2 separate regions of the Homo sapiens genome follow, and region 1 is linked to region 2. Evidence: promoter capture Hi-C in 16 types of primary human blood cells and fetal thymus (Javierre and others, 2016). All regions are on one chromosome and are shown on one strand. Each heading gives the region's core, a stretch centred on a gene start or on the middle of the fragment in contact. The rest is flanking DNA. Distances are from core to core; before and after follow the strand shown. Region 1 overlaps ZNF594 (zinc finger protein 594). Region 2 holds the start of ZFP3 (ZFP3 zinc finger protein).

Evidence for each region. The method cuts DNA at HindIII sites, captures the fragments that hold promoters and counts their contacts. A CHiCAGO score of 5 or more calls a contact.
Region 1: a contact is called between a fragment that was not itself captured here and the fragment with the promoter of ZFP3 in region 2, in 2 of 17 cell types (M1 macrophages and M0 macrophages). The highest score is 6.2, in M1 macrophages.

Annotation. Positions count from the first base shown.
Region 1 is chr17:5,179,821-5,186,852 of GRCh38, reverse strand. It overlaps ZNF594 (zinc finger protein 594), which reads left to right. Exons shown (of 2, transcript NM_032530.2): 2 at 2,577-7,032. The coding sequence starts at 2,597. The coding sequence ends at 5,020. Among named protein-coding and RNA genes, the nearest start is that of ZNF594, 8.5 kb to the left of the region's middle. The HindIII fragment of the contact is 576 bases long and covers 3,722-4,297 here.
Region 2 is chr17:5,072,959-5,079,992 of GRCh38, reverse strand. ZFP3 (ZFP3 zinc finger protein) reads right to left here and starts at 1,526. Exons shown (of 2, transcript NM_153018.3): 1 at 1,418-1,526. It overlaps ZFP3-DT (ZFP3 divergent transcript), which reads left to right and starts at 1,880. Exons shown (of 2, transcript NR_186458.1): 1 at 1,880-2,106; 2 at 4,053-4,315. RefSeq lists enhancers at 1,750-1,819, 1,187-2,058. The HindIII fragment of the contact is 11,376 bases long and covers 1-2,191 here.

The sequences.
Region 1 (7,032 bases), core at 2,760-5,259, 100 kb before region 2:
GGAGCAGAGGTGACTCTTGTTATGTTTTAGCAAAGACACTGGTGGCATTTTGCCACTGCCCTAGAGATTTGTGGAACTTTGAACTTGAGAGAGATGATTTAGGGTATCTGGTGGAAGAAATTTCTAAGCAGCAAAACATTCAAGGTGTGACTTGGGTCCTGTTAAATGGATTCAGTTTTATGAGGGAAGCAGAGCATAAAAGTTCAGAAAATTTGCAGCCTGAGAATGTGATAGAAAAGAAAAACCCATTTTCTGAGGAGAAATTCAATCAGGCTGCAGAAATTTGCATAAGTAACAAGAAGCTGAATGTTAATCCGCAAGACAATGGGGAAAATGTCTCCAGGGCATGTCAGAAGTCTTCACAGCAGCCCCTCCCATCACAGGCCTGGAGGCCTAGGAGAAAATGGTTTTGTGGGCCAGGCCCAGGGTCCCAATGCTGTGTCCAGCCTAGGGACTTGGTGCGCTGCATCCCAGCCGCTCTAGCCATGGCTGAAAGGGGCCAATGTAGATAGAGCTCAAGCTGTGGCTTCAGAGGGTGCCCTAAGCCTTGGCAGTTTCCACATGGTGTTGAGTCTTTAGGTACACAGAAGTCAAGAATTGAGGTTTGGGAACTTCCACCTGGATTTCAGAAGATGTATGGAAACGCTTGGATGCCCAGCCAGAAGTTTGCTGCAGGGGCAGGGATCTCATGGAGAACCTCTGCTAGGGCACTGCAGAAGGGAAATGTGGGGTCGAAGCCACCATATGGAGTCCCTACTCGGGCACCTTCTAGTGGAGCTGTGAGAAGAGGGCCAATGACCTCCAGACCCCAGAATGGTAGATCCACCTACAGCTTGCACCGTATGCCTGGAAAAGCTGCAGACACTCAACACCAGCCCGTGAAAGCAGCCAGGAGGGAGGCTGTGCCCTACAAAGCCACAGGGGTGGAGTTGCCCAAGACCATGGGAACCCACCTCTTGCATCAGCATGACCTGGATGTGAGACCTGGAGTCAAAGGAGATCATTTTGGAGGTTTAAAATTTGATTGCCTTGCTGGATTTCGGACTTGCATGGGCCCTGTAACCCCTTTGTTTTGGCCAATTTCTCCCATTTGGAACAGCTGTATTTACCCAGCAATACCTGTACCCCCATTATATCTAGGAAGTAACTAGCTTGCTTTTGATTTTACAGGCTCATAGGAGGAAGGGACTTGCCTTGTTTCTGTTGAGACTTTGAACTGTGGACTTTTGGGTTAATGCTGAAATGAGATGAGACTTAGGGGGACTGTTGGGAAGGCATGATTGGTTTTGAAATGTGAGGACATAAGATTTGGAGGGGCCAGGGGCAGAATGATATGGTTTGGCTCTGTGTCCCCACTCAAGTCTCATCTTGAATTGTACTCCCATAAATCCCATGTTTTGTGGGAGGGATATGGTGGGAGATAATTTGAATCATGGGGGCAGTTTCCCCCCTACTATTCTCATGGTAGTGAATAAGTCTCATGAGATCTGATGATTTTATCAGGGGTTTCTGCTTTTGCATCTTCCTCATTTTCTCTTGCCACCACCATGTAAGATGTGCCTTTCACCTCCCACCATGATTCTGAGGCCTTCCCAGCCATGTGGAACTGTAAGTCCAACTAAACCTCTTTTTCTCTCCAGTCTCAGGTATGTCTTTATCAGCAGCATGAAAACGGACTAATCCACTGGGGAAGGTCAGGGATTTGATAACGTGGACCCTCAAAAGCAATAAGCTCATCTATCTTGTAATTTCAGAAGAAATCAAATTGCCACACAAAAGGAGGCAATTCCATCAGAATATCAGAAAGAAAAATGTGAGGTCTGAGAAGAAGAGAATTGATTTCTATTGAAATGACAGCCAAACGTTTTTATTCTGAGGCATAGTACAGATTTGCTTAACTATCATGATATATAGGGAGGAAAGAGCAGTATGCTGGTTATTAATTTATTGCCTCTCAACTCCAGATCCACCCATCTTTGTTTGCTTTTGTTACAAAGCTGGATTCTGTAAACATTTCTCCTTTGCCAGTTCGTACAAGATTTGACTTTGTCAACAGAGGATGCTGGAGGGACAATGCGTGGCCATGGGAAGAGAAACTAACTTCCTGGTACCGGTGTGCTGTTCTATTTTTATTTATTTATTTTAATTATTTACTTATGTGGCTGCTAGCAGATCAACTTGTGGGAGGCCTGGTGGCATTTACCCTAGTGGGTTGCTTCCTGTGAACCAGTTCAGGCCCAGCCACACCATCCAGCAAGTTCCTCCCCCATCCAACAGGCCACTTCCTGTGGACCAACTCCAGATTGCCCTCCTCCCCCAGTGAATTAATTCACCACCCTTTAGGCCACTCCCACAGCCCAGCTCCAGCCTGCACCCTGGCGGGTTTTTTCACCAACAGGGTATGTGGTAGCACAGGTTCCTGTGTTAGCCACAGTGTCGCTAGTGAAAGCCACATCTCAGCTTTGGCAGGGAAAGGTCTTCTGAGTTCTTTGTTCCTCCCTCTTAGACTGCCCAGTATAATGAAGAGATGATATTTGTATTTTAGGAATTATAGAATGATCTACTTATCATTTCAGATTCTGAAGACAGGAATAAGATGAAGGAATGGAAATCAAAGATGGAAATTTCTGAAGAAAAGAAGTCAGCAAGGGCTGCATCCGAAAAACTCCAAAGACAAATCACCCAGGAATGTGAGTTAGTTGAAACCAGTAATTCTGAGGACAGATTATTGAAGCACTGGGTAAGCCCTTTAAAGGATGCAATGAGACATCTCCCTTCCCAAGAGAGCGGTATCAGGGAAATGCATATTATCCCCCAGAAAGCCATTGTGGGAGAGATTGGCCATGGATGTAATGAAGGAGAAAAAATACTTTCTGCAGGAGAAAGCTCCCATAGATATGAGGTTAGTGGCCAAAACTTCAAACAGAAGTCAGGATTAACTGAACATCAGAAAATTCATAATATAAATAAGACCTATGAATGTAAGGAATGTGAAAAAACCTTCAACAGGAGTTCAAACCTGATCATACATCAGAGAATTCATACAGGAAATAAGCCATATGTGTGTAATGAATGTGGGAAAGACTCTAATCAAAGTTCAAATCTTATTATACATCAGAGAATTCATACAGGAAAGAAACCTTATATATGTCATGAATGTGGAAAAGACTTCAATCAGAGCTCCAATCTGGTGAGACATAAGCAAATTCACAGTGGTGGGAATCCCTATGAGTGCAAAGAGTGTGGGAAGGCTTTTAAGGGAAGCTCAAACCTTGTCCTGCACCAGAGAATCCACAGTAGGGGGAAGCCATATTTATGCAATAAATGTGGGAAGGCTTTCAGTCAAAGCACAGATCTTATTATACATCACAGAATTCACACTGGAGAGAAACCCTATGAATGTTATGACTGTGGACAGATGTTCAGTCAAAGTTCACACCTTGTCCCACATCAGAGAATTCACACTGGAGAGAAACCCCTCAAATGTAATGAATGTGAAAAAGCCTTCAGGCAGCATTCTCACCTTACTGAACACCAGAGACTCCACAGTGGAGAGAAACCCTATGAATGTCACAGATGTGGGAAGACCTTCAGTGGGCGCACAGCTTTTCTTAAACATCAGAGATTGCATGCTGGAGAGAAAATTGAAGAATGTGAGAAAACCTTCAGCAAGGATGAGGAGCTTAGGGAAGAGCAGAGAATTCACCAGGAAGAGAAAGCTTATTGGTGTAATCAGTGTGGTAGGAATTTCCAGGGCACCTCAGACCTCATCAGACATCAGGTAACTCATACAGGAGAGAAACCATATGAATGTAAAGAATGTGGGAAAACTTTCAATCAGAGCTCAGACCTTCTGAGACATCATAGAATTCACAGTGGAGAAAAACCTTGTGTATGTAGCAAATGTGGGAAATCTTTTAGGGGCAGCTCAGATCTTATTAGACACCATCGTGTTCATACTGGAGAGAAACCCTATGAATGTAGTGAATGTGGGAAAGCCTTTAGCCAGAGGTCACACCTTGTTACACACCAGAAAATCCATACTGGAGAGAAGCCCTATCAGTGCACTGAATGTGGGAAAGCCTTCAGGCGGCGTTCACTCCTTATTCAACATCGGAGAATTCATAGTGGTGAGAAACCCTATGAATGTAAGGAATGTGGGAAGCTCTTCATTTGGCGCACAGCTTTCCTCAAACATCAGAGCCTGCATACTGGAGAGAAACTTGAATGTGAGAAAACCTTCAGCCAGGATGAGGAGCTTAGGGGAGAGCAGAAAATTCACCAGGAAGCGAAAGCTTATTGGTGTAATCAGTGTGGTAGGGCTTTCCAGGGCAGCTCAGACCTCATCAGACATCAGGTAACTCATACAAGAGAGAAACCATATGAATGCAAAGAATGTGGGAAAACTTTCAATCAGAGCTCAGACCTTCTGAGACATCATAGAATTCACAGTGGAGAAAAACCTTATGTATGCAACAAATGTGGGAAATCTTTTAGGGGTAGCTCAGATCTTATTAAACACCATCGTATTCATACTGGAGAGAAACCCTATGAATGTAGTGAATGTGGGAAAGCCTTCAGCCAGAGGTCACACCTTGCTACACACCAGAAAATCCATACTGGAGAGAAACCCTATCAGTGCAGTGAATGTGGGAATGCCTTCAGGCGGCGTTCCCTCCTTATTCAACATCGGAGACTTCATAGTGGTGAGAAACCCTATGAATGTAAGGAATGTGGGAAACTCTTCATGTGGCACACGGCTTTCCTCAAACATCAGAGACTGCATGCTGGAGAGAAACTTGAAGAATGTGAGAAAACCTTCAGCAAGGATGAGGAGCTTAGAAAAGAGCAGAGAACTCACCAGGAAAAGAAAGTTTATTGGTGTAATCAGTGTAGTAGGACCTTCCAGGGCAGCTCAGATCTCATCAGACATCAGGTAACTCATACAAGAGAGAAACCATATGAATGTAAAGAATGTGGGAAAACTCAATCAGAGCTCAGACCTTCTGAGACATCATAGAATTCACAGTGGAGAAAAACCTTACGTATGCAATAAATGTGGGGAATCTTTTAGGAGCAGCTCAGATCTTATTAAACACCATCGTGTTCATACTGGAGAGAAACCTCATGAATGTAGTGAATGTGGGAAAGTCTTTAGCCAGAGGTCCCACCTTGTCACACACCAGAAAATCCACACTGGAGAGAAGCCCTATCAGTGCACTGAATGTGAAAAAGCCTTCAGGCGGCGTTCACTCCTTATTCAACGTCGGAGAATTCATAGTGGTGAGAAACCCTATGAATGTAAGGAATGTGGGAAACTCTTCATGTGGCACACAGCTTTCCTCAAACATCAGAGACTGCATGCTGGAGAGAAACTTGAAGAACGTGAGAAAACCTTCAGCAAGGATGAGGAGCTTAGGGGAGAGCAGAAAATTCACCAAGAAGAGAAAGCTTATTGGTGTAATCAGTGTGGTAGGGCTTTCCAGGGCAGCTCAGACCTCATCGGACATCAGGTAACTCATACAGGAGAGAAACCATATGAATGTAAAGAATGTGGGAAAACTTTCAATCAGAGCTCAGACCTTCTGAGACATCATAGAATTCACAGTGGAGAAAAACCTTATGTATGCAACAAATGTGGGAAATCTTTTAGGGGCAGCTCAGATCTTATTAGACACCATCGTGTTCATACTGGAGAGAAACCCTATGAATGCCCTGAATGTTGGAAGGCCTTCAGTCAGAACTCACACCTTGTCAGTCATCAAAGAATTCATACCAGAGAGAAACCCTTTGAATGTAGCAACTGTGGTAAGGCCTTCAGTGGGTGGACAGCTTTTCTTAAGCACCAGAAACTTCACATTGGAAAGGAATTTGAAGACTGTAAGAGTCTACAAACAGGACCTATTCTAATAGGTAGCAGAAACCTAATGAATGCAGTAAAACTAGGAAAAGTCTGATGGAGACCACATCTTATTGCACTACAAATGAGTTTTATTAGAAAAAAACCATGGGAAGGTGGGAAAGCAGAGAAAATACCTACTGGATTTTTCAAACGTAAGTATAATCAAGTGGAAAAGCCAAAAGCTCTTGGACATAATCACCTTTTTTTTTTCTGTCTCAGAACTGACACTAGAATATGGTCCCAACGATACAATTTTTTAAATTATTTATTTTTTAACATACAAAGAGATGAGGTCTCACTATGTTGCCCAGGCTGGACTTGAACTCTTGGGCTCAAGCACTCCTCCCTCCTCAGCCTCCCAAAGGGTTGGGATTACCGGCATGAGCCACTGCACCAGCCCCAGGGGTCTAATTACTTGAGAATGTTTTAAGGGATGTCTATCATTATTAAAATCATTATAAATCACTTTGGCAACAACCCCAAAACTAAATTATTCATGGAAAGAGCCATTTCAATCTTGACTTCCTAGTCGAGTGACAAGTTTAAATGTGGGAAAAAACCCTGTGAAAGTAATGAGTGTAGGCCAGGTGCGGTGGCTCGTACCTGTAATCCAGCACTTTGGGAAGCCAAGGTGGGCAGATCACGAGGTCACGAGTTGATCATGAGGAGTTACTATGCCCAGCCAACATACTAAAACCCCGTCTCTACTAAAAATAACAAAAATTAGCCAGGCATGGTGGGGCACGCCTGTAGTCCCAGGTACTTGCGAGGCTAGGGCAGGAGAATCACTTGAACCTGGGAGGTGGAGGTTGCGGTGAGCCAAGATCATGCCACTGCACTCCAGCCTGGGCAACAAGTGCGAAACTCCATCTCAAAAAAAAAAAAAAGTCTAACTCTTCTGCTTGTCTTTACAATGCTGTACAGTGAGAGCTAATGTTTATAAGGATAAACAGGATACTTACAGGGATTTGAAGGTAATTTAATTCAGTGGTTTCCAACTTTTTAATCACCAAGGCCTTCTTTTTACTCCCCTATGTCCTGTGTCTTAAAAGATTATGTTTACCAAACTGCATTTATTAAAGAATTATATTTTGCTACATAAAGGCATGTACAACACAAATCATGCTTCT
Region 2 (7,034 bases), core at 277-2,776:
ATCTTGGCTCACCGCAACCTCCGCCTCCCAGGCTCAGGCGATTCTCCCACCTCAGCCTCCCAAGCAGCTGGTATTACAGGCATCTGCCACCACGCCTGGCTAATTTTGTATTTCTAGTAGAGACAGGGTTTCACCATGTTGGCCAGGCTGGTCTCGAGCTCCTGACCTCAGGTGATCCGCCCACCTTTGCCTCCCAAAGTGCTGGGATTACAGGCATGAGCCATCACGCCCAGCTGACCCCCTCCATTTTCTTCCCTGACCCCCAGGCTCTAAGGCAGACAGCTACTCCTTCACCTTGTAGCAGCTACCCCACTGCATTATTAATTTTTCATACCTATTTTCTTCTCTAGACCATAAGCAAGGATGCTGTTCCATTCATCCTGGTATTCTGAGTACCTAGCATATTTCAGATACCTGGTAAATGTTAAGTGAATTTGTGTAACTGTCTTATATATATAATGAATCTGCAATACCTCCCTTTTTTCTGAGACAGGGTCTTGGCTCTATTGCCCAGACTCACTGCAGCTTCAACTTCCCAGGCTCAAGAAAATCCTCCCACCTCAGCCTCCCAAGTAGCTGGGACTACAAGCATGCGCCACCACACCCAACTACCCAACTAATTTCTTTGTTTTTTGTACAGATGGTGTCTCACTATGTTGCCCAGGCTGGTCTTGAACTCCTGTGCTCAAGTGATCCTCCCGCCTAGGCCTCCCAAAATGCTGGGATTACAGGCATGAGCCACTGCACCCAGCCTCTGTAATACTCTTGATGGCTAACTGGATATTTCATTCATCATTATATCTAAAGAGCCTAGGATAGTGTCTGACACATAGCTGGTGTCGATAACTGTTTGTAAAAATAAGTTCCTTTTCCCAATCTGGGTGATATTTAATTTATGGCACTGTTAACCTCCTTTCCTCTCTTCTCCCTCTGACCCACAATAGGGCTCTATCTTTGCAGCTCAAACCTGTCTCCTTTTCACGACCACCCCTCATAAGCCAATATCTTGTCTGGCAGCACAGGGCACAATCTGCCACTAGGGCGTTAAGTTTGTGACACTGCCCGCCATTTCGTCCTAGCGGTTTACTTGGGGGTGGAATGTCTGAGAAAACCACAGCTCCCACGGGTCCCCACCTCGGTACAGAAGGGAGTGTCCCTGCTTCTCCCACCCCCACGGCTGACAGGCACCAAACCAGAGCTGGGACTGTCCCTGGCGGTGTCCAGGCCCCACCCTCTCTGTGTGCAGGTGGAAATGAAGGCCTGGGGGCGGGGGGAATGGAGGGAGGCATAAACTTCAAGGTCACACAGCGAACCCCGGTCAGAACGGGCCTAAACGTAGGGTTTCCGCTCGGCTCTCTAGGGAGCTGGGAGCCCAGCCCCCGCCTACCCCCACAGCCGCGACGGAATGAGGTCTCACCGCAGGCCGCTACTGCCCCGCGCTCGCTCACTCCGCTGAGGCTCCGCGCTGCTGGGCCGCTCGCACAGAGCCCGCAGCTGTTGTCCCGGTGTCACTGGCGACGGGCATCGGCCACTTCCGGTACCCGGGCGGCACTCCAGCCAATCGGCGCGCGTCGCACTCCGCTGGAGGAACAGGTGGTCAGCGCACCGACGCCCCCTTGCCTTTTCCGGCTTGCTTTTCGCCGGTTCTAGCCCTAGCCCAAGTTCCACGTCGCCGCCGCCTGCCGAGCCGGCTCCCTGGAACAGCAAAGTGCACCCGTCGATGCCCACTTCAGCCCCGGAATCATTGACGACCTGAGTCCTCCGGGTTTCCTAGAACGGCTCCGGGGATGAACTTCCGCTCCGCGATCTGCCGCTCTGCGCCCTCGTGTCGCTCCCCAAGCATTGCTCTAGGCTCAAGAACTCGAGAATCCGCTTCGCATTCCCGCGGGGACCGTTTGCGCGACCCTTTTAACTCTCCCAACCCGCATCGTTCTTATCCCATCCTTCCTTTCCACAGACTCCGTGGGTCTGATAAGCACAGGGCTGCAGATCCTGGGAACAGGTCTCTCCTCGGCGGGAGCGAAGGGAGACATGCTTTGAGTTCCGGAAGGGCTTGCAGGAGTGACGTTTGGCCTGAAATCTCAAGATTGCGTGGGAATTACCAAGGTTAAGAGTAAAGGCCTAGGTTAAGCTGCCGAGGCCACGGAAACAGCATTCTGCAGCTAGCCTTCCTGGGTTCCCTGAGCAAGCTTGGCCCATTCTCACCTCAGAACCTTTCCTTGTTACTTCCTCTGTAATTTTGCACAGCCAGCTTGTTTTCTTGTTTGTTTGTTTTTTGAGATGGAGTTTCGCTCTTGTTGTCCAGGCTGGAGTGCGATGGCGCCATCTCCGCTCACCGCAACCTCCGCCTCCCGGATTCAAGCGATTCTCCTACTTCAGCCTCCCCGAGTAACTGGGATTACAAGCATGTGCCACCACGCCCGGCTAATTTTGTATTTTAGGTAGAGACGGGTTTTCTCCATTTTGGTCAGGCTGGTCTCGAACTCCCGACCTCAGGTGATCCGGCCGCCTCGGCCTCCCAAAGTGCTGGGATTACAGACATGAGCCACCGCGCCCGGCCTCCAGCTTGTTTTTGTTTGTTTTTTGAGGCGGAGTTTCGCTCTTGTCGCCAAGGCTGGAGTGCAATGGCACGATCTCTGCTCACTGCAACCTCCACCTCCCGGGTTCAAGCGATTCTCCAGCCTCAGCCTCCAGAGTAGCTGGGATTACAAGTGCCAGCCACCACGCCCGGCTAATTTTTGTATTTTTAGTAGAGACGGGGTTTCACCATGTTGGTCAGGCTGGTCTCGAACTTCTGACCTTAGGTCAGACCTTAGGCCCACCTTGGCCTCCCAAAGTGCTGGGATTACAGGCGTGAGCTACCGCGTCCAGCCAGCCAGTTTGTTTTTAGGTGTCAGTTCCAAGATCACCACATTGAAGACTTTCATTCTATATAATGTTGCCTCAGAGTACACTATCCTTCCCAAATATCAGTTACAAAGGACTATGATTAGCCCTGTTTGGGTCTGGTGCTCAACCATGGACCAATCAAGGGGGAAAGGACCGTGTGATTTACCAAGCCTGGTCACCTGCCTTCCCGCAAGGATGACGGCGGGCTTCTGTGTTTGCCTCACCATAATCCTATGAAATAGGGAAAGGAGTGACCACCCTTAGAAGGGAATATTGTGTTTGTATGCCACACACAATCTAGCAGAAAGAAAACTTTCTCTTGAATTCATCATTGCCATTAGGCCCTAGACTCTAGGGTCCATCACTTTAGCCACTCTGGTACTAAAATCCTTAACTCCCTTGCCCTACTGTCTGCAACTGCATGGGAAGTTTGTTAACTCTGATTCAATCAGAATATCTATTTTCCGGCCGGGCGTGGTGGCTCATGCATGTGATCCCAGTACTTTGGGAGGCTGAGGCAGACAGATCACAAGGTCAGGAGTTCGAAACCAGCCTGGCCAAAATGGTGAAACCCATCTCTATTAAAAGTACAAAAATTAGGGCCAGGTGCGGTGGCTCACACCTGTAATCCCAGCACTTTGGGAGGCGAAGGCGGGAGGATCACAAGGTCAGGAGTTCGAGACCAGCCTGGCCAATATGGTGAAACCCTGTCTCTACTAAAAATACAAAAATTAGCCAGGCATGGTGGTGCATGCCTGTAGTCCCAGCTACTCGAGAGGCTGAGGCAGAAGAATCACCTGAACCTGGGAGGCGGAGGTTACAGTGAGCTGAGATCACGCCACTGCACTCTCGCCTGGGCGACAGAGTAAGACTCCATCTCAAAAAAAAAAAAAAAAAACTACAAAAATTAGTCAGATGTGGTGGCTCGCACCCGTAATCCCAGCTACTCGGGAGGCTGAGGCAGGAGAATCGCTTGAACCTGGGAGGCAGAGGTTGCCGTGAGCCAAGATCACGCCACTGCACTCCAGCCTGGGCCACAGAGCGAGATTCTATGTCAAAAAAAAAAAAATCTGTTTTCCTTGCCCATGCGGCTAATGGTGAGTGGGAAAAATATATTTTGTTTAAGAGTCCTAAGGTAATCTTATGGTCTCTGCTTTCCACAGGCCCAGAAATCACTTTCTGTTTCCCTACTCAGCTTGTCTACCATTTTCCACGGTTGCCATTGCAACCTTCCTCACTCTGCTCAAAACTTTCTCCAAGCCGTGATCCAAGAAAAGTCCATTTCCATCAAAATCATTGCAAGCTACATTTATCCCAAGGAAAGACGCCCAGACTACAAAAATATCCTGCCGCAGAACCAAGGGTGGAAGATATTTGGTTTTACTGAGCTTTATCTAGTACACCTGCATTAATGGGTGTCTGCCTCAAGAGCCTAAATCGTGATTCTCAACCTTGACTGTGGGGAAAAGCAAGAGAGATCAGATTGTTACTGTGTCTGTGTAGAAAGAAGTAGACATAGGAGACTCCATTTTGTTCTGTACTAAGAAAAATTCTTCTGCCTTGAGATTCTGTTAATCTATAACCTTACCCCCAACCCCGTGCTCTCTGAAACATGTGCTGTGTCAACTCAGAGTTGAATGGATTAAGGGCGGTGCAAGATGTGCTTTGTTAAACAGATGCCTGAAGGCAGCATGCTCCTTAAGAGTCATCACCACTCCCTAATCTCAAGTACCCAGGGACACAAAAACTGCGGAAGGCCGCAGGGACCTCTGCCTAGGAAAGCCAGGTATTGTCCAAGGTTTCTCCCCATGTGGTAGTCTGAAATATGGCCTCGTGGGAAGGGAAAGACCTGACCATCCCCCAGCCCGACACCCGTAAAGGGTCTGTGCTGAGGAGGATTAGTATAAGAGGAAGGAATGCCTCTTGCAGTTGAGACAAGAGGAAGGCATCTGTCTCCTGCCTGTCCCTGGGCAATGGAATGTCTCGGTATAAAACCCGATTGTATGCTCCATCTACTGAGATAGGGAAAAACTGCCTTAGGGCTGGAGTGGGACCTGCGGGCAGCAATACTGCTTTGTAAAGCATTGAGATGTTTATGTGTATGCATATCTAAAAGCACAGCACTTAATCCTTTACATTGTCTATGATGCAAAGACCTTTGTTCACGTGTTTGTCTGCTGACCCTCTCCCCACAATTGTCTTGTGACCCTGACACATCCCCCTCTTCGAGAAACACCCACAAATGATCAATAAATACTAAGGGAACTCAGAGGCTGGCGGGATCCTCCATATGCTGAACGCTGGTTCCCTGGGTCCCCTTATTTCTTTCTCTATACTTTGTCTCTGTGTCTTTTTCTTTCCTAAGTCTCTCGTTCCACCTTACGAGAAACACCCACAGGTGTGGAGGGGCAACCCACCCCTACACTTGACTGCACATTGGAATCACCTGGGGTCTAAAATCATGGCTGTCTGGTGCCTCCCACATAGACTCTGTTGAAATTGATCTGAAAAAAGATCTGGACGTGGATTGTTTTGCTTTTAACTTTCCAGGTAATTCTGACCTACAGCCATGGTTGAAAACCAATAGCATAGGCCAATGGTTCTCAAAGTGTGGTCTCTAAACCAGCAGCATTAGCATCACCTGGGGACTTGTTAGAAATGAAAATTCTTAGGCCCCACCCACAGATCTTCTAAATCAGAAACTCTGGAGTTGGAGCTCAGAAATGTGTTGTGGCTTTTTTGTTTTGTTTTGTTTGGTTTGGTGGCTGTTGTTTTTTGAGATGGAGTCCACTCTGTCGCCCAGGCTGGGGTGCAGTGGTGCCATCTCAGCTCACCACAACCTCCGCCTCCTGGGTTCAAGTGATTCTCCTGCCTCAGCCTCCCGAGTAGCTGGGATTATAAGTATGCACCACCACACCTGGCTAATTTTTGTACTTTTAGTAGAGATGGGGTTTCACCGTATTGGCCAGGCTGGTCTTGATCTCCTGTCCTCAGGTGATCCACCTGCCTCGGCCTCCCAAAGTGCCAGGATTACAGGTGTGAGCCACCAAGCCCGGCCCAGAAATGTGTGTTTTAACAACACTTCATGGCTCTGATGCACAATAAAGTTTGAGAATCATTGGCCCCAGCTTTGGCAGTGCTTAATCTGACCTGCGCTTGTGTGTGAGTTAGGAAGGAAAAGGATAAGTTGTCTCCTCTCAGCCACTCCCCGGCTCACCGTTTGCTTTATTTTATTTTATTTTGTTTTGTTTTTTGAGATGGAGTCTTGCTCTTGTCGCTCAGGCTGGAGTGCAATGGCGTGATCTTGGCTCACCGCAACCTCCACCTCCGAGGTTCAAGCGATTCTCCTGCCTCAGCCTCCTGAGTAGCTGGGAATACAGCCACGTGCCACCACGCCCGGCTAATTTTTGTATTTTTAGTAGAGACAGGGTTTCTCCATGTTAGTCAGGCTTGTCTGGAACTCCTGAGCTCAGGTGATCCGCCCACCTCGGCCTCCCAAAGTGCTGGGATTACAGCCGTGAGCTACCACGCCTGGCCCACCGTCTGCTTTATTACACTAGCCAACCTAGGTGCCACCTGGAGTAATAGGAATCTACTGAGTGAAGGAGACAAGGACATATGGTTTGTAAATACTGTTCCCACTTTCAGCCTGTATGAGGATGTGTATGACTGGGCAGGGGCTGATGTTTCACGGTCTACTAACAGGTTCAGGACTTCCACAGAATTGGCTTTATAGGTGAGTATGAGCAGTTCTGTTCCTCTTAAAAAAAAAAAAAAAGGTAGATAGGAACACTGACCACCCTCCTGAATTCACACAGAGACAAACACATGGAGAAACCAAAGACACACTGCACTATTTCACCCTTGTCCCTTCTCTTCTATCTGTAGAATATGTGAGAAGGAGGGCTACAGGCACTGGCTGCACTCCTTTCTTACATTTTTATTTTATTATTTTATTATTTTATTTTATTTTATTTTTGAGACAGAGCTTCACTCTTGTCGCCCAGGCTGGAGTGCAATGGTGCAATCTTGGCTCACTGCAACCTCCGCCTGCTGGGTTCAAGCGATTCTCCTGCTTCAGCCTCCCAAGTAGTTGGGATTACAGACATGCACCACCACTCCTGGCTAATTTTTGTATTTTCAGT